7 separate regions of the Homo sapiens genome follow, and all the other regions are linked to region 6. Evidence: promoter capture Hi-C in 16 types of primary human blood cells and fetal thymus (Javierre and others, 2016). All regions are on one chromosome and are shown on one strand. Each heading gives the region's core, a stretch centred on a gene start or on the middle of the fragment in contact. The rest is flanking DNA. Distances are from core to core; before and after follow the strand shown. Region 1 overlaps DCTN6 (dynactin subunit 6). Region 2 overlaps SARAF (store-operated calcium entry associated regulatory factor). Region 3 holds the start of LEPROTL1 (leptin receptor overlapping transcript like 1). Region 4 has its middle 4.4 kb from the start of DCTN6. Region 5 has its middle 34 kb from the start of DCTN6-DT. Region 6 holds the start of DUSP4 (dual specificity phosphatase 4). Region 7 has its middle 28 kb from the start of SARAF.

What was found. Contacts are between HindIII fragments. The CHiCAGO score rates a contact against its expected background, and 5 or more counts as called.
Region 1: a contact is called between a fragment that was not itself captured here and the fragment with the promoter of DUSP4 in region 6, in 2 of 17 cell types (naive CD4 T cells and total CD4 T cells). The highest score is 7.4, in naive CD4 T cells.
Region 2: a fragment that was not itself captured here is called in contact with the fragment with the promoter of DUSP4 in region 6 in 6 of 17 cell types (M2 macrophages, endothelial precursors, fetal thymus and 3 more); the score reaches 8.3 in M2 macrophages.
Region 3: a contact is called between the fragment with the promoter of LEPROTL1 here and the fragment with the promoter of DUSP4 in region 6, in 1 of 17 cell types (non-activated CD4 T cells). The highest score is 5.1, in non-activated CD4 T cells.
Region 4: a contact is called between a fragment that was not itself captured here and the fragment with the promoter of DUSP4 in region 6, in 3 of 17 cell types (M2 macrophages, M0 macrophages and total B cells). The highest score is 6.1, in M2 macrophages.
Region 5: a contact is called between a fragment that was not itself captured here and the fragment with the promoter of DUSP4 in region 6, in 1 of 17 cell types (total CD4 T cells). The highest score is 5.3, in total CD4 T cells.
Region 7: a fragment that was not itself captured here is called in contact with the fragment with the promoter of DUSP4 in region 6 in 17 of 17 cell types (M2 macrophages, total CD4 T cells, naive CD4 T cells and 14 more); the score reaches 22.4 in M2 macrophages.

What each region holds. Positions count from the first base shown.
Region 1 is chr8:30,168,483-30,171,182 of GRCh38, forward strand. The region is part of intron 2 of DCTN6 (dynactin subunit 6); the gene reads left to right. Among named protein-coding and RNA genes, the nearest start is that of DCTN6-DT, 13 kb to the left of the region's middle. The HindIII fragment of the contact is 6,372 bases long and covers 1-2,700 here.
Region 2 is chr8:30,072,651-30,075,368 of GRCh38, forward strand. SARAF (store-operated calcium entry associated regulatory factor) reads right to left here. Exons shown (of 6, transcript NM_016127.6): 2 at 1,227-1,405. Among named protein-coding and RNA genes, the nearest start is that of SARAF, 9.1 kb to the right of the region's middle. The HindIII fragment of the contact is 3,292 bases long and covers 1-2,718 here.
Region 3 is chr8:30,094,043-30,096,742 of GRCh38, forward strand. It overlaps LEPROTL1 (leptin receptor overlapping transcript like 1), which reads left to right and starts at 1,366. Exons shown (of 4, transcript NM_015344.3): 1 at 1,366-1,486. The coding sequence starts at 1,471. RefSeq lists a silencer at 1,214-1,673. The HindIII fragment of the contact is 3,733 bases long and covers 1-2,700 here.
Region 4 is chr8:30,150,607-30,153,402 of GRCh38, forward strand. No RefSeq gene overlaps it. Among named protein-coding and RNA genes, the nearest start is that of DCTN6, 4.4 kb to the right of the region's middle. The HindIII fragment of the contact is 3,005 bases long and covers 24-2,796 here.
Region 5 is chr8:30,189,072-30,191,771 of GRCh38, forward strand. No RefSeq gene overlaps it. Among named protein-coding and RNA genes, the nearest start is that of DCTN6-DT, 34 kb to the left of the region's middle. The HindIII fragment of the contact is 3,441 bases long and covers 1-2,700 here.
Region 6 is chr8:29,349,366-29,352,065 of GRCh38, forward strand. DUSP4 (dual specificity phosphatase 4) reads right to left here and starts at 1,319. Exons shown (of 4, transcript NM_001394.7): 1 at 481-1,319. The coding sequence starts at 913. LOC124901924 (a long non-coding RNA gene) reads left to right here and starts at 1,609. Exons shown (of 2, transcript XR_007060876.1): 1 at 1,609-2,169. RefSeq lists enhancers at 317-818, 347-496, 819-1,318, 2,017-2,086, 2,127-2,236 and silencers at 1,177-1,496, 1,687-1,826. The HindIII fragment of the contact is 21,736 bases long and covers 1-2,700 here.
Region 7 is chr8:30,053,495-30,056,327 of GRCh38, forward strand. No RefSeq gene overlaps it. Among named protein-coding and RNA genes, the nearest start is that of SARAF, 28 kb to the right of the region's middle. The HindIII fragment of the contact is 8,354 bases long and covers 1-2,833 here.

The DNA.
Region 1 (2,700 bases), core at 52-2,551, 820 kb after region 6:
CTTTTATTGTTGTTTTTACTTAGTTTATCTGAGTTAAGTAGCAATAAACTGTTGTTTAATTCATAGATTTTTTTCAGGATGTTTTGTGTAATTTTCCATCTTCTAGTCATGTATACTTTTACAAATTATTCCATTCTGAAATATTTCAGGAAGAAAGTAATGTTTTCCTTTGCTAAGTTTCAGGCTAATGGAACTTTAAACCCGATCTGTTTTCCTAGAAAAGCAGGTATTTGTTTTTTCAGAGAAACTAGCTGGATGCTTGGAAGTATGGTCCTTAACCAGAAACCCTATGACTTGAAGCTCTGCTGGAGCCTGACCCCCTTATTCAAGGCTGTTCAGAGACAGAGCTTGGGAAAAGTAACAGCCCTCTTGTTAATTATAATTTGGGTAAATAAGGTTTCATAGCATCAAGCCTATTTTTAGTTAGTCTGCCTTAATTCATGGCCCATGAATTATTTCCTGTAAATCTTTATTTTGAGAGCTGAAAACATTTCTGAAAGGTACCTTGAAGCACCGTCCCGTGGTCCATTACAGGGCGAGAGGCCGGGACAGAACTTGGTCAGGACATCAGTATGTGAAGGCGGAACTCGGCTCAGTGGAAATGTTTTGTGCTGGAAGCACTTTGTCCCACTTACTTAGTCTCTCTAGGAGAGTTTTAATACGGACCAAAAGCCTCCCTTTCATTGCGGCAGTCTTTTTCAGTAAGGCAGAACAGTGGCTTTGACTTGAGAAATTATCACCTATAAAGCACTCTTACAGGTACTTCAGCTTACAGTTCAAGAAAATTGTTTAGTTGTCAAAAAAACAGAGCTTAAGGCCTTTTGAATTATTTATTGACAAATGGAAATGTACACAAAGATTGCTTTCTGTGGCAAAGATAGACAGGAAAAGTGTCCTTTACCAGGGAAATGGAAATTGGATGCAAGGAATATCTTTCTGGCTATGTGGCACCAAGCCCAGCCAACCATTTAGAAAAATAATTCATCAGCCAGTAAGGCAGTTCCAACTCTAGACACATTTTTCCAAACAAGCAGATAAGCCAAATAGGGCTTCAGCACATTTAGTAAGAAAATACACAAACTACCCCGCCAGAAGGAGCGCCAGGGTTCACAGCAGGCTTTCAATGTTTTCCGTGGTGACAGATTTTTATTTTTAAAGCACTTTAACCTCAAGACCCTTAAACTTTATGTTGAATTCAGACCTGATCTAGGTGTAATAAAAGTGCTCATGGCATCAGAAAAGCATGAAGTGAACCGTGGCCACGTTTCAGTGTGCTGTTTCTTATGGTGCTTGAGTTGCTGGGCTCTGGGCTCTGTGCTGCCCAACCTCCATCAATAGACCACGCAGACAAAGCAGAATTATCCGCATCATTCACGGAAATCACAGCCTTCCTTTAAGAAGTTCACCAGGCCAGAGGCGGTGGCTCACGCCTTTAATCCTAGCACTTTGGGAGGCCGAGTCGAGCGGATTTCCTGAGCTCAAGAGTTTGAGACCAGCCTGGGCAACACGGTGAAACCCCGTCTCTCCTAAAATACAAAAAATTAGCTGGGCGTGGTGGTGGGCTCCTGTAGTCCCAGCTACTCGGGAGGCTGAGGCAGGAGAATTGCTTGAACCTGGGAGGCGGAGGTTGCAGTGAACTGAGATGGTGCCACTGCACTCCAGCCAGGACGACAGAGCGAGACTCTGTATCCAAAAAAAAAAAAAAAGTTCACCAAACCAAAATCTAGCGGTTATGTATCCTGAAGTACGCTTATGCTAACTACTTCAGTCTGTGCCCAAAAAAGACCCGCAAGAAGTTGAGAGAAGCTATTTGATGAGTTATTGCCCGTGACATTTGCTGTCACCTCACAATTTAAAGCTGATCATTTCTCAAACTTTTATTTCAGCCTCTTAACACTGGGACCTGTAGTTTGGCAATGCTGCCAGCAGGTGGAGGTGGTGTCTAAATCACTGGTCTCACCTAAATGCGGCGGTGCTTTCTCTCCCTCTCTGGACACAGCCCTCAGATTTCTAACCAGGCATTTTCCAGTTACTTGTTTAATAATTATTAATAATGATAAAGACAGTAATAACAATAATAAAATAAAATACCTGCTTAAAATAGCTCACATATTATTTTTTAAATATTGTGCAAGACATCTTATGGGACTTGGGGTTGTTTTAATTTTTTTTTTTTTGAGACAGAGTCTCACTTTGTCACCCAGGCTGGAGTGCAGTGGCGCAGTCTCGGCTCACTGCAACCTCTGCCTCCCGGGTTCAGGTGACCCTCCTGCCTCAGCCTCCCAATAGCTGGGATTACAGATGCCCGCCATAATGCCCGGCTAATTTTTGTGTTTTAGTAGAGATGGGGTTTCGCCATGTTGCCCGGTCTCGAACTCCTGTGCTCAAGTGATCCACCTGCCTCGGTCTCCCAAAGTGCTGGGATTACAGATGTGAGCTACCACACCTGGCCTATTTTAATTTTTAAAAATGTGTGCTTCTGGTATCTTCTGTGAAAAAAATTTTTAAAAATTTTTAAAAAGTGTGCTTATTTGTTTGAGTTCTTTATATAAGAAATTTGTATTACTTAGTCATTTTTGAAAGGGAAAAATGAAACTGTCACTTGTTTTCATAAGTTTTAAAGAAACACACAGGTCCCAGGGGTATCCTTGTCTTGTCAAGAACTACAGCTTGATGACCGGCAGAATATCTAGTGTCTCT
Region 2 (2,718 bases), core at 107-2,606, 720 kb after region 6:
CTGTCCTGCTACTAAATGGCCTCTCTCCTGCTACTAAACATAAGCCAATGTATGATATGCTCAACACTCCTTTGCTCATGCTATTCCCTTCTCTAGCCTTTCCTCTCTAAAAATGTTATCATTCCTTCCTAACACAGCACAAATGTCTCATCCTTTAAGTCCCAATGGCTCCAACCAGACGTGACTTTATAATGTTGTGTTGGGACCTACATGTAATCTGAGTGCCTGTCTTACCTCTTCTACTAGTAAGACAGTTTCTTCATTCTACCTTATTCATTTTTGTATATTGCAATTAATACATGCTTAATGAATGACATCACCATTACTGCCTTTTTTTCCCATCAAGACTCTAAAAGTCATAAGTAAAGTGGAGTGAGACTTCTGCTATAACCCAGAGAATTCTATGATTCAACTTAGCAGTACTGGGGGAAAATATTGTGAAGTAAGTATCACCCAGTACACATCAACTTCCTCTCTGAATTGCAAAGACCACGCATAAAGGTTGTATCAAACAAGAATATCATTCTGATGGAGAGGGGAAATCGTCAACATAAGTTTCTTGCCTTGTGACCAGTCGTCTTAAATCAATTTTGAAAGCAGTCAGAATACAAAGTAGAAATATGTAACTAGTGATTTAAACTGAATTCATTTAATAAAATCTATCTCTAAAGCATATTCAGTTTTGGAACTTCAAGGAGATGCTCTGCTCGTATACAAAACACCAGCGTCCCAAAGGCAATCAATGAAACCTGCCGAAATGCTTCCTTTCAAAAGTAACCACCCTCAGTTCTAAGACAATTTTAAAATCAAGTGCTAGAAGCACAATAGAGATATATGAACCCCTACTATTTACGATCTATAATTCCTAATTATCTTAACTTTGTCTTAAGGGTAGGTTGGTATTCTTTGAGGAACGACAGGAAAATGACAACCATAAGATATCCCCTATCCCTCACCCTCAAGTATATAAAAAGTTGTGAAAATTTACAAATATCTTAGAAGGAGGTCACGATACAAAAACTAAAATGAGTATTTTCAGGCTTTAAAATCAGTTCATTTCTTTTGGAGGCCATTTCTTCCACAGGAAGAGTGATTGATTTACTTACATATTTTAGGCTGATCTGAGATTTCCGTAGGTGCACCCTCAAAAGACTGAATAATGTCCCAATAAACAATTTACTGAATAAAAACCCCATTTAGACTGCCATTACTGTAGTGGATATTACCTGTACATCATACCCATCCCAGCCTTTGTTCTGACACTGTATGACTTTTGGGGTATAAGAATCACAACCAGCTGTGCCTCCAACACATTTCAACTGTGGGATGGGATCCAGCCTGCGGGAGGTGGTATAGCGGTCATAGTGGAGGGTAAGAGCTTTTACATCCCGCAGCAACATTCTGTCTGAAACAGCAAGAAAACAGAGGAACACAAAGTAAGTATCGTGTCAGAGAAAGAAAGGTTCATCCTAACGAAACTCTCGTCATAGGAAATGCCTTTCTTGCCTTCTGAGGATGGCTAAGAGAGGATGAATCTATTTCTCAAAACTATCCCAACAACATTCAGGCCTTCTGAACAAAATTCAGGTCACACTTTTAAGATCTCCCTGCATTTCAGGCCAGATGCTTCTACAGCACAAGTTGTACATCATTTTTGCTAAATCAAAAGAACAAAAAGTTCATTAACCTGAAACATTGTACTACTGTGTAATAATAATAGTGGTTAATTAAAATGGCAAGAATATAAGCATGTTCCTGAAGCACATTTAATGCTTTAAATGTCCATCAACAGGTGAAGAAATTAACACATTCTGACCTATTACAGTGGAATATTACATAGCAGTTAAAATGAGTGAACTAGAATTCATGTATCAAACTAGATAGATGGCAAAAACATTTTAAACAAAATACAAGTTGCAGAATGTTTTGTATGACAGCTTTACATAAACCTTTAAAAAAGGCAAAACAGTACTACATACTGTTAATGTCTATATATGTATATAATAACAACATGAAAACATGTATGGGAAGGATTTAACACCAAATTCAAATAAGTATCTAGTCTAGGGAGAGAGAAAGAAAAGAGATTTTAGCTCTATTCCTAATGTTTTATTACTGGGAGTGGGGGATTTGTAGCAAATATGGCAAAATATAAAGATTCAATAAAACTGGGTGATGACTATGTGTAGGTTCATTGTACACTTCTGTATGTTTAAATACTTTAGGTATTTCATAATTTTAAAAATCAAAACTATTTAAACTATTTCACAAACTAAAAAATTTAAAACATACTGACAAGAGACTTTGAAAGGAGGAGTCAAAACAATAAAATTATGTCTGGCATTCATGTGCAAAAATGAAATTTTTAGGTTGGGTGTGGTGGCTCACACCTGTAATCCCAGCACTTTGGGAGGCCGAGGCACGTGGATCACCTGAGCTCAGGAGTTCGAGACCAGCCTAGCCAACACGGCGAAACCCCATCTCTACTAAATATACAAAATTAGCCGGGAGTGGTGGCACATGCCTGTAATCCCAGCTACTTGGGAGGGTGAGGCAGGAGAATCGCTTGAACCTGGGAGGAGGAGGTTGCAGTGAGCCAAGATCACACCATTGCACTCCAGCCTAGGCAACAAGAATGAAACTCCATCTCAAAAAAAAAAAAAAAATGAATTTCTATGCATTATTGGAAAATAAGGACAAAGTCTTCCTATTTATCAT
Region 3 (2,700 bases), core at 116-2,615, 740 kb after region 6:
TGCCTTGTTACTACCAAAAAGACAGCCACCCAAGGGACTGGATTTCTATTAAATCCACCCTTTACTGAGCCCTGCTGCTCCTATCTCTGGAGGTGGGTCCTCACCAGAACCCTAGTCCTGTATAGGAAACCAAGGAGCCAAGTGCAGACCACCCAACTAACCTTAATTATAGGACTGGGGATGGAGGGATGGAGGGAGAGAGGAAAAGGCGCAGTAAAATAATGTGCGCAGTGGCTCACACCTGTTGTCGTAACCGAGCGAGTTATAGAGAAACACCACACTTTGAGACTAATTCAGGAGTCCTTTATTGCCGGCGACCGAGAGACGACTACAGCTCAAAATTCTCTCGGCCCTGAAGAAGGGGCTAGATTTCTTTTTATACCTTGGTCTAAATAGGGAAGGGGTAGTCTAGCTGAAGCAATTTTTACAGAAGCAGAACAGGCAAAGAGTTAAAAGATAAATGGTTATAGAAACAGTTACAGGAAAATAAACAGTTCCAGGTGCATGGGGCTTAAATTATCACAAAGAGATAAACGCAGGGGCTTTGGGTACCATCAACCGAGCGCGTTCCCAGGAGCTGCTGGTACAGCTTGCCTCAGTATCTTATCAGTAAGCACATTCCTGGATGTGCTTGGTGTCAGTCTGCACCAGTTATGTCCTTAAGGGAGGGGGACAAGGTGCTGCAAGCGAAGAAACCAAAATGGAGTCTGTCCCGCTCTCTCAGCTAAGAGCGAGTCAATCAGGTTAAAACAAGGTAGGGTATCAAGCTGTAATCCCAGCGCTTTGGGAGGCCGAGGAGGGCAGATCCTTGAGCTCAGGAGACCAGCTTGGGCAACAAGATGAGAGTCTCACACCCCGCCCTGTCTCTACAAAAAACAAAACAAAACAAAACAAAAAAAAGCCAGGCATGGTGGCTCATGTCTGTGGTCCCAGTTACTGCGAGGCCGACGTGAGAGAATCACTTGAGCCCTGGAGATCGAGGCTGCAGTAGCCGTGATCACACTCCAGCCTGGGCGAAAGAGACCCTGTCTCAAAAAACAAACAAAACAATGTGAAATTAAGCCAAAAGCCATCACACGTGCATCCAAAGGACGGCCGCTACCCGCGACCCCTTCCCAACGCACGCGGGAGGTTGCGGGATCAGGGACAGGGGCTTCAGCAGGGAGCCCCCAGACCGGCCCTGACAGGAATTCAAGACCTGGCGCCTGCTCATTCCCCCAGTCGGGGCGGCGGCGGCAAGCCTCGGCCGGCGGCGATCTGCACACCCGCGGAGAAGAGAGGCAGGGGGTCGACCCCACAGCCCAGCCCGGCGCGTCCCCCGCGCCCCCGCGCGAGCCCGAGTCGCCGGCGGAAGTGCTGCGTCGCGCACTTCCGGGTGTTGTCTGGCCGCCGTAGCGCGTCTTGGGTCTCCCGGCTGCCGCTGCTGCCGCCGCCGCCTCGGGTCGTGGAGCCAGGAGCGACGTCACCGCCATGGCAGGCATCAAAGGTGGGCCTGGGTTGCAGGACGCGGGAGGGCTGGGGCCGGCGGGGGAAGATGGGCCGGGGGTCCCACGCGGCCCCCGCACTTCCCCTCCGGGCTCGCGCGCGCGCGTGGGGTCCCTGCGCCGGGGAAGCGACCCCCGCCCCGGCCCTGCGCTTGGCCCGGAGGTGGGCGCGGCGCCCTCGGGCAACGGACGGTTGCGACCCCGGCTTCGCCCCGCAGCCCCCACTTTCTGCCGATTTCGGCAGCCTCTCTCCCACCCATCGCCCCCCGGACAAAATATGAAGTGGTTGGCGGTCAGTGAGGAGTCCCGTCGCGACTTGGACGGCCACACACGTTTTGCAGGAGTTTGCATCCGAGAGAGAGGCAGGCAGAGCGTGGGATTGAGAAGGCTGAGGCTGCTAGAGATGCCAGCTATGGAAAACCAGTCATTTCCCACCGAAAGGCACAAGTGCGGTCTGCGGGCGCTGCACGGGTCTGCCCGAAACCTCGACCCCACGTCCACCCCGGCCGCCCGCGCCCGAGGCTTTACAGGCTCCCGAAACGGGTGCATTTTCATCTGCGGTGTCTGGACCCTAGAGTTGATCCTGTAGGCGACCCCAAAGTGCTCCTGGCTCTCTTCCCTCTCCGCAGTTGCACCCTGAGGCTTTTTCAAATTTCAAAATTTTTCTTTTTTTCCTTTTTTTTTTTTAAGAAGATAAAATACTGGTACAACTTAATGAAAAACTACTGGCTTATTCATGTATTTTCTTTTAAAAAAAGGAATGTTGCATTTGTTCCACCTGTTAGGTAGTTTTGTTGTCAGTGTGATGAGAAGCAAAGTTTTCAGCTACTGCTTAACTAATTACATTGATTTCTTGACCTGCCGCTCTGTAGAAGGGCAGTCAGGCAGGAAGCAGGTAACTTTGGGAGCAGTGGTTTTCTTTGTATTTTTTCTTCTCTAAGGAAAACTTAATCGAGTTTTTTTTCAGGGTCACAGTCTTACTGTTTCTTGTTTATTTTCAATGTCTGAAAACATTTCATTTCCCATATAAAACCTTGTCATTTAAGCAACTGGGATACTTTGTAATCTCCTTTTGAACTATGATAGACTCTAAACCCTTATGTGAAAGGCAGTTATTGTGAATTGCTGTGGTTTTTAGGATGTTGCCCGTTTCCCTGTTCTTCCCTGTTTCTTCAGTGTCAATAATGCGGGGGTCTCTTAAGAAAATAGCTTTGTA
Region 4 (2,796 bases), core at 276-2,775, 800 kb after region 6:
GTGTTGCGAGCAGCCTGAATGGAAGCTTCATCTGCCCACCAAGTTTTAAATTGTAAGAAGTGAGTGGGAATTAGACCAGCTCGAGTAAGAGTGTTCCAGTCAGTAGGACTCATCCGACTGGAAACAGCAACATTCTTTAACAGTCCCATTACAAAAGGAGAACCTGGTCCATACTGATTAATAGCTTGTTTAAAATTCTTTGAGTAATTTAAAAGGAAAAGGCTCAAATGTAGCTGTAATAGTTCCCTGTTGATCAGGTGGGTGTATTCTAACAGGGAACTGCCAAGCCTCTATATCACCCTCTCGTCTAGCTTGCTGAATTCCTGCCTGAATAGAACTGAGAGTGGTCGCTGGAGGCGCTGCTCGAACAGTCACTGGGGCAACTACTTTTCACTCAGTGTCCTCCAGAAAAGAAAGATCTGGAGGGTGAGGCCACTCTTTTTCTTCAAAATAATAATGAGGGGGTGCAGAAGGGTAGGGATGAACCTCTCCCTCCTTTGCCACTTTAGCTTTAGCTGGCAAATAAACCTCCTCTGTAACCTCTTCTGTTATCTCGTTATACTCTCCTTCCTCATCATCAGTGTGAAAAGGTTCCAAAGTGGAACGAACCAGAGCCCACACTTGTCCCATTGTTACCCTGATGCTTCTGAGCTCCCCTTCTTACCCACCACGGGGATTGCTTTAAGAGTACTTGGGTGTCCTCCAGCTTAGCTCCACATTCTCCAACCATTGCTCTGATGACTCTTCGACCTGGGTTTGAGCCCCCACGTATGGGCGCCACTTGCCAAGACCAGCTCGGTCCTGGAGACCCTAACCCAGCGGCACTAGAGGAATTAAAGACAGACACATAGAAATATAGAGTGCGGAGTGGGAAATCAGGGGTCTCACAGCCTTCAGAGCTGAGAGCCTCGAACAGAGATTTATCCACATATTTACTGACAGCAAGCCAGTGATAAGCATTGTTTCTATAGATTAACTAAAGATATTCCTTACGGGAAATAAAGGGATGGGCTGAAATAAAGGAATGGGTTTGGCTAGTTATCTGCAGCAGGAGCATGTCCTTAAGGCACAGATCGCTCATGCTATTGTTTGTGGTTTAAGAACACCTTTAAGGGGTTTTCTGCTCTGGGTGGGCCAGGTGTTCCTTGCCCTCATTCTGGTAAACCCACAATCTTCCAGCGTGGGCGTCATGGCCATCACGAACATGTCACAGTGTTGCAGATATTTTGTTTATGGCCAGTTTTGGGGCCAGTTTATGACCAGATTTTGGGGGCCTATTCCCAACAGGGAAGAAGAGGGCTCCCTAAGGAACTAAATAAGATAACATCATATTAAACATATTGAATGAAACCAAATCCCACATCAAATATAATTTCTAGGTATAGAAGAGTTGAATTGCAGTTGATTAGTTAAGAAAAAAGTTGCTTTGTAGACATTGAATTAAGTATGTACGTGTGGGTTTGGACACAGTGACTCATGCCTGTAATCCCAGCACTTTGGGAGGCAGAGGCAGGTGGATCACCTGAGGTCAAGAGTTCAAGACCAGCCTGGCCAACATGGTGAAACTCTGTCTCTAATAAAAATCCAAAAAAAAAAAAAAAAAAAAAAAAAAAAAAGGCCAGGCATGGTGGCAGGTGCCTATAATTCCAGCTACTCAGAAGGCTGAGGCAGGAGAATCACCTGAATCCAGGAGGTGGAGGTTGCAGTGAGCCGAGATCACGCCATTGCACTCCAGCCTGGGCAACAAGAGTGAAACTCCATCTCAAAAAAAAAAAAAAAGTATGTGTGCATTTATTTATTTTATTATCGAGACAGGCTCTTGCTCTGTTGCCCAGGCTGGAGTGCACTGGCATGATCTTGGCTCATTGCAACTTTGACCTCCCGGACTCAAGTGATCCTCCCACCTCAGGCCCCAAGTAGCTGGGGCTACAGGCACGTGCCACCATGCCTCGCTAATTTTTGTATTTTTTGTAGAGACAGAGTTTTGCCATGTTGCCCAGGCTAGTCTCGAACTCCTAACTCAAACAATCCACCTGCCTCAGCTTCCCAAAGAACTGGGGTTACAGGCGTGAGCCACTGTGCCTGGCCTTAGCATTAATTAATTCCTACCTGTACGGTTTACATTCTGGAATCAGTACATTTTATTTTCAGGTTTCAAACAGTTCGTTGATCCCCAAAAAGCCTATAGGCCCTAGACACTGTACCTAATACTGATAAAATGATCCTTTATAAGTATGCCATAGAAGTCTTTCAAATTAATATAAATACACATTGCTTGAAAATGGATAGGTGTTTACATGGTTGGCAGTGACAAAACACTCTAAATTCATTCATATACTTATTCAACAAGTTTAGAGGAATATCAACCATGCACCAGGCACTGTGGTTGGTGCTGAGTAAAGAGTGGGAACAAAACTCACATGGCTCTAACTTCATGGAACTTAAGTCTTTGGAGGAAATGGTAAGATAAGTAAGTATAGCTGGTGATGAGTGCAATCCTTACCCCACAGAGAAAATAATTAGAATAGGAAGGGTAGCCTATTTTTGATTAGATGGTGCTATGGTCTGAATGTTTTTGTCCCTCCAGAATTCATATGTTGAAATAATACCTTCAAGGTTCTGTCCTCTCTGCCGAGCCTCACATCTGATATTTTATTGACTACTTGGCAATTAAGAGGTGGGACATTTGGGAGGTGATTAGGTGATGAGGGCTCTCATCAGACACAGAATGTCCAGCGCTTTGATCTTGGACTCCCCAGCCTCTAGGACTGTGAGCAATAAATGTCTTTGTTTATA
Region 5 (2,700 bases), core at 5-2,504, 840 kb after region 6:
CTCCTTTAAAGGGTGTTGTATTTAAATATTTTAGAACATTTAGCTGGGACTAGGTTCATGACACTAAACACATGCAAATGGAGGCTCAGGCTTTGAGAAGAGAATCATTGTCAGGCCCACTAGAGACCCAGCCAAGAATGGATTGATTGCCCAAGCCTTCATTGTCAGCATCCCTCTCCACAGGGTTTCAGCATTGCTCACCTTCATGAAAGTTTGGTGCTAAGTCCCTGAATTTAGACTTTCTTTTTTCCTTTTTAAAATTTTCAGTGACAGGGACTCACCATGTTGACCAGGCTGCTCTTGAACTCCTGGACTCAAGCCACCCTCCTGCCTCAGCCTCCCAGCGTGCTGGGATTACAGGCATGAGCCACCATGGCCTGCCTAGATTTTCCATTTCTTAAACTAACTCAGCTTTCATTAGCTACCTATATGGTTCAGACTTTTGAGCCAGTCTCTGCTCTCGGTGAAAAATAATGCCGGATGTTCAGAACCCAAATTTCCCCTACTATGAAGTCGTCTGCTCCTTGGTAGGCTAATCACTGCTCTCTCTGAGTTGTATGCTTTCCAAAAATCAGTTGTATTTGGCCGGGCATGGTGGCTCATGCCTGTTATCCCAGCACTTTGGGAGGCTGAGGTGGGCAGATCACTTGAGGACAGTCCAAGACCAGCCTGCCAACATGATGAAACCCCATCTCCACTAAAAATACAAAAGTTAGCTGGGCATGGTAGTGGGCCCCTGTAATCCCAGCTACTCAGGAGGCTGAGGCAGGAGAATTCTTTGAGCCTAGGAGGCGGGGGCTGCAGTAAGCCAAGACTGTGCTGCTGCACTCCTGCCTGGGCAACAGAGCAAGACTCCATCTCAAAAAAAAAAAAAAAAATCAGTTGTATTTGTTCCAAAACTTGTTTTTGCAAGTTGTACTTAATAACGATGTAATTTAATTCAATATTACCAAAATCAAACAATTATGAGTGTGAAGAGAGTAATCTCTATGAAAAAAAGTTGAAAACTTGGGAAAGACCTGATAAAAGACGTGTTATTAAAGAAAAAAATGCTGTGGAATTAGGTGTGGGTAAAGCAACCGTGAATGTTTGGGAGGGAGAGAAAAGTGTCAAAATATAGGACTTTGCCTTCATTTTGTTTCACAAGTGTCTTGAGTCCTCATTCTACTAAAGCTGAAATTGATAATGCTTCTTGCTGTGCTAATCAATGTCCTCTGTGCAGCCTGCATCAGCAGGCCCACACGCAAAGAAAAGGTCTTATCCTGACATCAAAGGAGTGATGGGTAGATAAACCTGTTTATATTTTAAATTAAAAATAAAATTTTGAAGATATATATAATAATTTTATGAAGCCCCATATAGCTGACTTTTTTCTTTAACCAACCAACTACAGATTCTGACTGCGTAGTTAGGATGGCCGGGTGCAGTAGCTCACACCTGTAATCCCAGCGCTTTGGGAGGCTGAGGTGGGTGGATTGCTTCAGCCCAGGAGTTTGAGACCAGCCAGACCTCATCTTTATTAAAAAAAGAAGAAGAAGAAGAAGAAGAAGAAGAATCAGAATTTCTGCAGTATAGTTCCAGGAGCTGCCAAACAGTGGTATAAGGAAATGAATTGCCTGGGCCTCAACATATCCTCAGTGTCAGTGACACATGTATACTTTCAAATGAATAACCTCTTTTTATGAAGATTATACTTTGGCATCCCTTATCTGTAGGCTAGCTGTGCTTGATTTTAGTAGAATAGATTTTTAGGACTTAATCATCATTAATGTATCTGTATTAGTCCGTTTTCACACTGCTGATGAAGACATACCGGAGAATGGGCAATTTACAAAAGAAAGAGGTTGACTGGACTTACAGTTCCACGTGGCTGGAAGGCCTCACAATCATGGCAGAAGGTGAAAGGCATATCTCACATGGTGGCAGACAAGAAAAGAGGGCTTGTGCAGGGAAACTCCCGTTTTTAAAACCATCGGATCTTGTGAGACTGAGACCAAGACCAACTCACTATCACAAGAACAGAACAGGAAAGAGTCACCCCCATGATTCAATCACCTCCCACCAGGTTTCTCCCACAACATGTGGGAATTGTGGGAGTTGCAATTCAAGATGAGATTTAGGTGGAGACACAGCCAAACCATATCAGTATCTACACTTGTTTGTTCAGAGAACAATTTCAAGTCTGTCAGCTTATCCTGCAACTGTGCCTAAAATATGTTCCTTTTTTACTTAAGGCTACCTGGCACTGCTGTAGATGTGTAATATATTTTGCTTAAATGCTTAGCATGAAAGGGAAGACTTCCACTTTTGGTTGCTGTAACCCGTGAACTTTCGCCATTATGTTCAGTAGACTTTGTAATCAGAAAAAAAAAAATGACCATATTGAATCCCAGATGGCATTCTTTTTTTTTTTTTCTTTTTTTAAGAAAGGGTCTCACTGTGTCACTCAGGCTGAAGTGCAGTGTCACTATCATGGCTCACTGCAGCTTTGACCTCCCAGGTTCACATGATCCTTCCACGTCAGCCTCCCAATTAGCTGGGACTACAGGCATGCACAACCATGTCCAGTTCATTTTTAAATTTTTTTTTGTAGAGACGAGATCTCCCTATGTTGCCCAGACTGATCTCGAACTCCTGGGCTCAAGCTATACTCCTGCATTGGCCTCCCAAAGTGCTGGGATTACAGGTGTGAGCCACAGC
Region 6 (2,700 bases), core at 69-2,568:
GTGAAACTGGCAAGGCCAATTGTACCTCGGCGCCCACCCCTCTTCACCTTTTCTCCACCTCTGGGATTCTCCCGGTCCGGCTCAGTGTAGGGCCCCAGCACGCCAAACCAACAGGCCTATCTTGTCCCCACGCGCCCCGTGGTACTTGGAAACTGTTCCCGGGACTCAAGATGGACCGCGCAGAGGAGTCGCTTCATCCTCGAGGCTAGGACCGTTAATGTCAATAAACGGGGCCTCGCTAGGACGGTGCGGAATTGCAGGTGACCGGAGAAACCCGTCCGCACTTTCCCTGAGGACTTGAACCTCGCACTTGCACAGAAACCTTGCAAACCCCTACACACCAACACACACAAAGGGGCGCGCGGGGATCCCCGCAACCACGAATCACGCCGGGGACTCCTTCCCGTGCCAATAAGGCGCAGGCCGCCAAGACCCCCTCCATCTCCCCGACTCCAGCTAGCGCCCGGAGCCCTCGTTTACCTTTGAGCAGGCAGATGTCGGTGCGCTCGGCGTTGCGGCGCAGCGCCTGCACCACCAGCGACACGGTGCTGTCCTCGCGGAGGCTCTCGGCGCGCGGGCTGCGCTCGTCGTAGACGATGACCGCCGAGTAGAGGCCGGAGCGCAAGCGGGCGCGTACCTCCTCCTCGGCGGGCAGGATCTGCTCCAGGCTCACGGAGCCCTTAGCCCGCCGCCGCACGATGGTGTTACAGCGCACGTTGACCGAACCTAGGATGTAGCCCGCGCTGTGCGCCAGGAACGGTCTGCAGTCCAGCAGCAGGCACTTGCCGCCGCTCGGCAGCCCCAGGGTGCCGTGGCTGCCGCTGCCGCCCGCGCCGCCGCCATTCTCGTCCCGGTTCATCAGCCTTTTGAGCACACTGCAGTCCATCTCCCGCAGCTCCTCCATCGTCACCATGGTCGCCGGGAACCGAGGCGGCTGGGCGCGCGAGGAAGAGAAGAGAACCCGGGCCGCCTAGGCTGCAGAAAGGGGCGGGCGAGAGCTAAGAAGGGACGCCTGCAGAAGTGGCCGCAAACTTGGTCCTCAAGGGCTCCCGCGGGAGAGCCTCTTCTTCCCTGTCCCCTTCCTCCCGCAGCCTCGCGGTCACATAGCAGTCGGAGCGGCCTCGGGCGCCCAGCCGGGCGGCGCGCAGAGCGGAGGGGGAGGCGCCGGTGGAGGAGAGTGTGTTTACGAGAGAGGACCGCGGACTCTTTTCGGCGACGGCCTCCCGTGTATTTTTGCCGGTCGCGCGGCTCCTGTCGCCACTGGCGCCAGCGCTGCCCTGCCTACGCTCCTCCGGCGCTCAGCGCACTGCCCCAGCCAGAGTTTTCTCCTCGGCTTAGAGGTTTATTAATGCTCCTCCGCGCTCCCGGGGGAGGGGGCGCTAGGTACTACCCCGCCAGGCCCCGCCCCGTTCCATTCCGGGCCCCGCGCCGTCCCCCGCCCCCCGCGCTGTCCCCCGCCCCCCGCGCTGACTCCCCGCCCCCTCCGGGCCCCTCCTCCCACCCCCTCCCCGGAGCTTGAATGGAGCGCGGCCGCTGGCTCCCGGTCACGGGAACTCGACGTCACAAAGAGCGGAGTAAACAGGGCGCCGGGTGCTCGCCATCAGGCCCATTCATAAAACCGAGGCCGAGAGGAAGAGGGAGGCGGCCTCCGACCCGCCGCCAGCGGCGGGCAGCGCCCGGACTTTGTGAATGGAGCGCGCGGCGCCTTTCGCCGTCTACCCGCGGGCCCAGCCTGCGCCGCGCCTCCAGCCCGACACCGGCACCTGTGCCGCCGCTGCACCCCGCCGCTAGGCGGGCGGCGCCAAAGGAAATAGCCGGCTGAGGAGGCCAGGGCTCGGGTTTGAGCTTTCATCCCTTGGCACCTTCGCGCTTCCCCGCGTGACAGCCCCGTAGGTTTTTCCCGGTTACCCAAGTGGAGAGGGGACCGGAGCGCTGCTGCCCACCCAGCGGGGCCTGACACCTCCTAGCCCCAGACTCCCCGTGCGCTTTCGGCCCGGCCAGTCCTTTCTGAATATGCGATTCCTGAGACGTTAGCGTATGCATTAGCGTGATCGATTTTCATCTAAAGCCATTAAATCAGTTTTATAGCTTCCCCAAGAACGTGGGCAACCCCCTGCTTGGAAGATGAAAGAGAAAGTCCTCCCGCCCGAAGCCCAGGATCGGAGTGAGGTGTGGGGTTTGTTGCTTTACTACCCAAAGGGAGGCATTAATTGCCGGAATGGTGTTCCGAGGGAGGAGAGCAGGCTGCGCTCCTGTCCACGCTTCCTAAAAGATGTTTATTTAACCCTGGTCGGGGGAAAAACAAGGTTTTCGGGTTTGGGAAACGTCTTCACCCTATCTTGCATAGTTGTGAATTATCCTTTCAGGAAATGACAGGGTCCACATTTGTTGCGGAGCTGGACCCTGGAAAATGTACCCGCAAAGAATGACCTTTTGAAAGGACTTCAGCAGCTCTGGGTCCGATTCATGTTTCTGGGCATCCCTTTTTCCTGGTCACGTAGCAGCCCTCCCCATCCCCATTTCTCTTTTGCATTTAATTTCCCAGAGGCGGCTTTTGGCTGGGGGTTTGTGCACGCACGCGGTGGGGACCGTGCAGAAGCCAAAAATCATTCGCCCGACATCTTGCCAAGTCTTGTTAGTGAGAATTAATCACAGAGCAAGGGAGTTACAGGACTCGCTCGCAGTTTCGGAGGCTGCAGA
Region 7 (2,833 bases), core at 132-2,631, 700 kb after region 6:
CTATATAATTTAATTAAATATAATTTAACTTGATAAATACTCATAATTTTGAATATTTTAATGTAAGGAAGAAATGTGTCTTTTCTCCTTTAATAAGGAAAGATTGTGCTGGGGATTTAAAAAACAAAAAACAACAACAACAAAAAAAAACATGATCAAACCTAGGTAGATGACCAGATGGTGGAGGATCCAAAAGCTAGGTAAAGTAAGAAATGATTGAGAGTGTTTTGGATTTTTAACTTGAATAAAAAATAGAGCTGTCTTCAAATATCTACAGTAAGGGAATTCCACTTTTATGTTTGTGAGGGCAAGATGATTTGAACCAATCCTATCACACACGGAAACTAACAAAACTGAGCAAAATATGAAAAGACATCTTCCCGAAGGCATCACAGAGCTAGCAAAATCATGAAGATTTACTATTTCTGGATCCAGGGAAGACAGGAACTCCTATAAATTATGTGGGCATTATTCCCATCCTGCCCTTCATCCACTAGAAAATGATTTACTTAGAAACAATGTGAAACATTGTGATACACAATAAGGCATTCTGTAAATCTACATATCATGGTTTCAACAACAGCCTTTCGAGTGGGAAGGGCCAATCCAAACCCAGAGTAAATGTCTACTTCAGTGACAACAAATCATTGCCCCTTTCATGATAGAAGTGGTCTCATGTAATCAACATGCCACCAGATGGTGGGCTGATTTCCCCAGGGAATTGAACCGTATTCAGGGTTCAGTGTTGGCCTCTGCCGTTGGGAGATAGGGCACTCAGCAGCGGTTGTAACCTGATCGGTTTTGGTGAATGGAAGACCCTTTTGCTGAATCGATGGATAACTTTCATCCCTACCACCTTAGCCACTTTGTTTATGAGCCAATGAAACAGGAGTAGGGCTTGCTGAAAAAAAGAGGCTGAATAATAGCCACAGAAAATGTCATCTTATGAAGTGACTTAAGATGCAACGTTCTGTCGGGGACATGAACTACTTACTGATCCTAATACTCTGAGTGGATGGTTTCCTGAGGGATGATGGCTTCCTGCTTGGATGTGATGATGCCTATAGTAAGCAAGGTGGAGATGCCAGAATTTCTGTGATATTCTACTACTCAGGTAGTTGTAAGCATGTATATTGGACAAAAAAAAAAAATCTCATCTTTGTTAAGAGAGGACCATACATCTACATTTCCCCCAGATATCCTTATCAATTTTTCTTTCTTTTTTTTTTTTTTTTTGGAGACAGAGTCTCGTTCTGTCACCCAGGCTGGAGTGCAGTGGCACGATCTCATCTCACTGCAACCTCTGCCTCCTGGGTTCAAGTGATTCTTCTGCCTCAGCCTCTCGAGTAGCTGGGACTACAGGTGTGTGCCACCACGCCTGGCTAATTTTTTGTATTTTTAATAGAGACAGGGTTTCACTGTGTTAGCCAGGACGGTCTCGATCTCCTGACTTTGTGATTTGCCTGCCTCAGCCTCCCAAAGTGCTGGGATTACAGGCGTGAGCCACTGCGCCCAGCCTAATTTTTGTATTTTTAGTAGAGATGGGGTTTTACCATGTTGGCCAGGCTAGTCTCTAATGCCTGACCTCAGATGATTCGCCCACCTCGGCCTCCCAAAGTGCTGGGATTACAGGCATGAGCCAGCTTGCCCAGCTTTATCGTCAATTTTTCAGTCTCATTTTTCCAAGCCCCTGGTCACCCATTCAAACCAGAAACCACTGTCTATTTTGAAAAGTGTAGATACATATGTCTTGCCATCTCTTATTTCAGATGCATAGCTCAAAATTCCACCCCCTCAGGGCACTTCCCTTCACTGTCCTTCCAGGTGGTATCAGCATATCATGCAGATCCATTTGTAAATCAGGCTACTCTTGACTTGCTGTCCTGTATGGAATTCCATCCACCTTGGTTGGCTCTGACAATGAAGAGATGCAATTTGCCACTTCGGAAACCCACTATCTCTGTTAATCTTGGGAAGTCCATTTTCATGACAGCATTTCCCACTATTAACCTTTGCCTACAGAGGACAACTATCATTGAGCCCTTAAAAATGCTAATAACTCTCTCACCAGTACCTTCCTTACTACCTTGGTAAAGGGAGATGCTCTGAACCCTCAGAGTAGAGTCAAATGTTGGATTATTCAGTCTCATAAGTAAATTCTAACATCCCACTTCCTTGAGTCTTCAGATACTGTGCTCAATACTATACCATAGAAAGTCTGGCATCTCTACCTCACTTACGGTAGGCATCATCACATCCAATCAGGAAACCATCATCATCCATCAAGAAACCATCCCAGAAAATTATTAGAACCAGTAGCTCATGTCTTTGACAGAACATTGAATCCCAATTCACAGGTGAACATAAAGGACTTCTCTTTCCACCATATTTCACCCCTCCCACAGCCCAACTTCCAGATGAATTTCCACATGGTTTATCCCTACTCTCGCTGGTACATATTAGCTGTATGGTACCATGATTTTTTTAGTATGTGACCTATTTCCTCCCAAGGCAAGTGCTATAATTCCAAGAGGTTATCATTCTTTTGCTGTGTGGCTTATTTCCTCCCAAAGCAGGGACTGTCTTTCCCTGTTAAGGTTGAGATCTGACTCTAGTTATTGGCCTGGAGGCAGAGATGTGGCAGGACTCAGTTTTAAGAAAAAATGCTATCTTACAAGGCATCTGCTTCAGGTGAGGCCGTTACATGGTCTCTAGACAAGGAAGGCTAATCCCCTTCAGCAAGAAGGAAGGGGCTGCTATGCCAGAAAGAAAGACTTAGGAAGATGTCGATGTTCAAGTTCTTCTGATTCCTTGAACAGTCCAATTCCAAAAT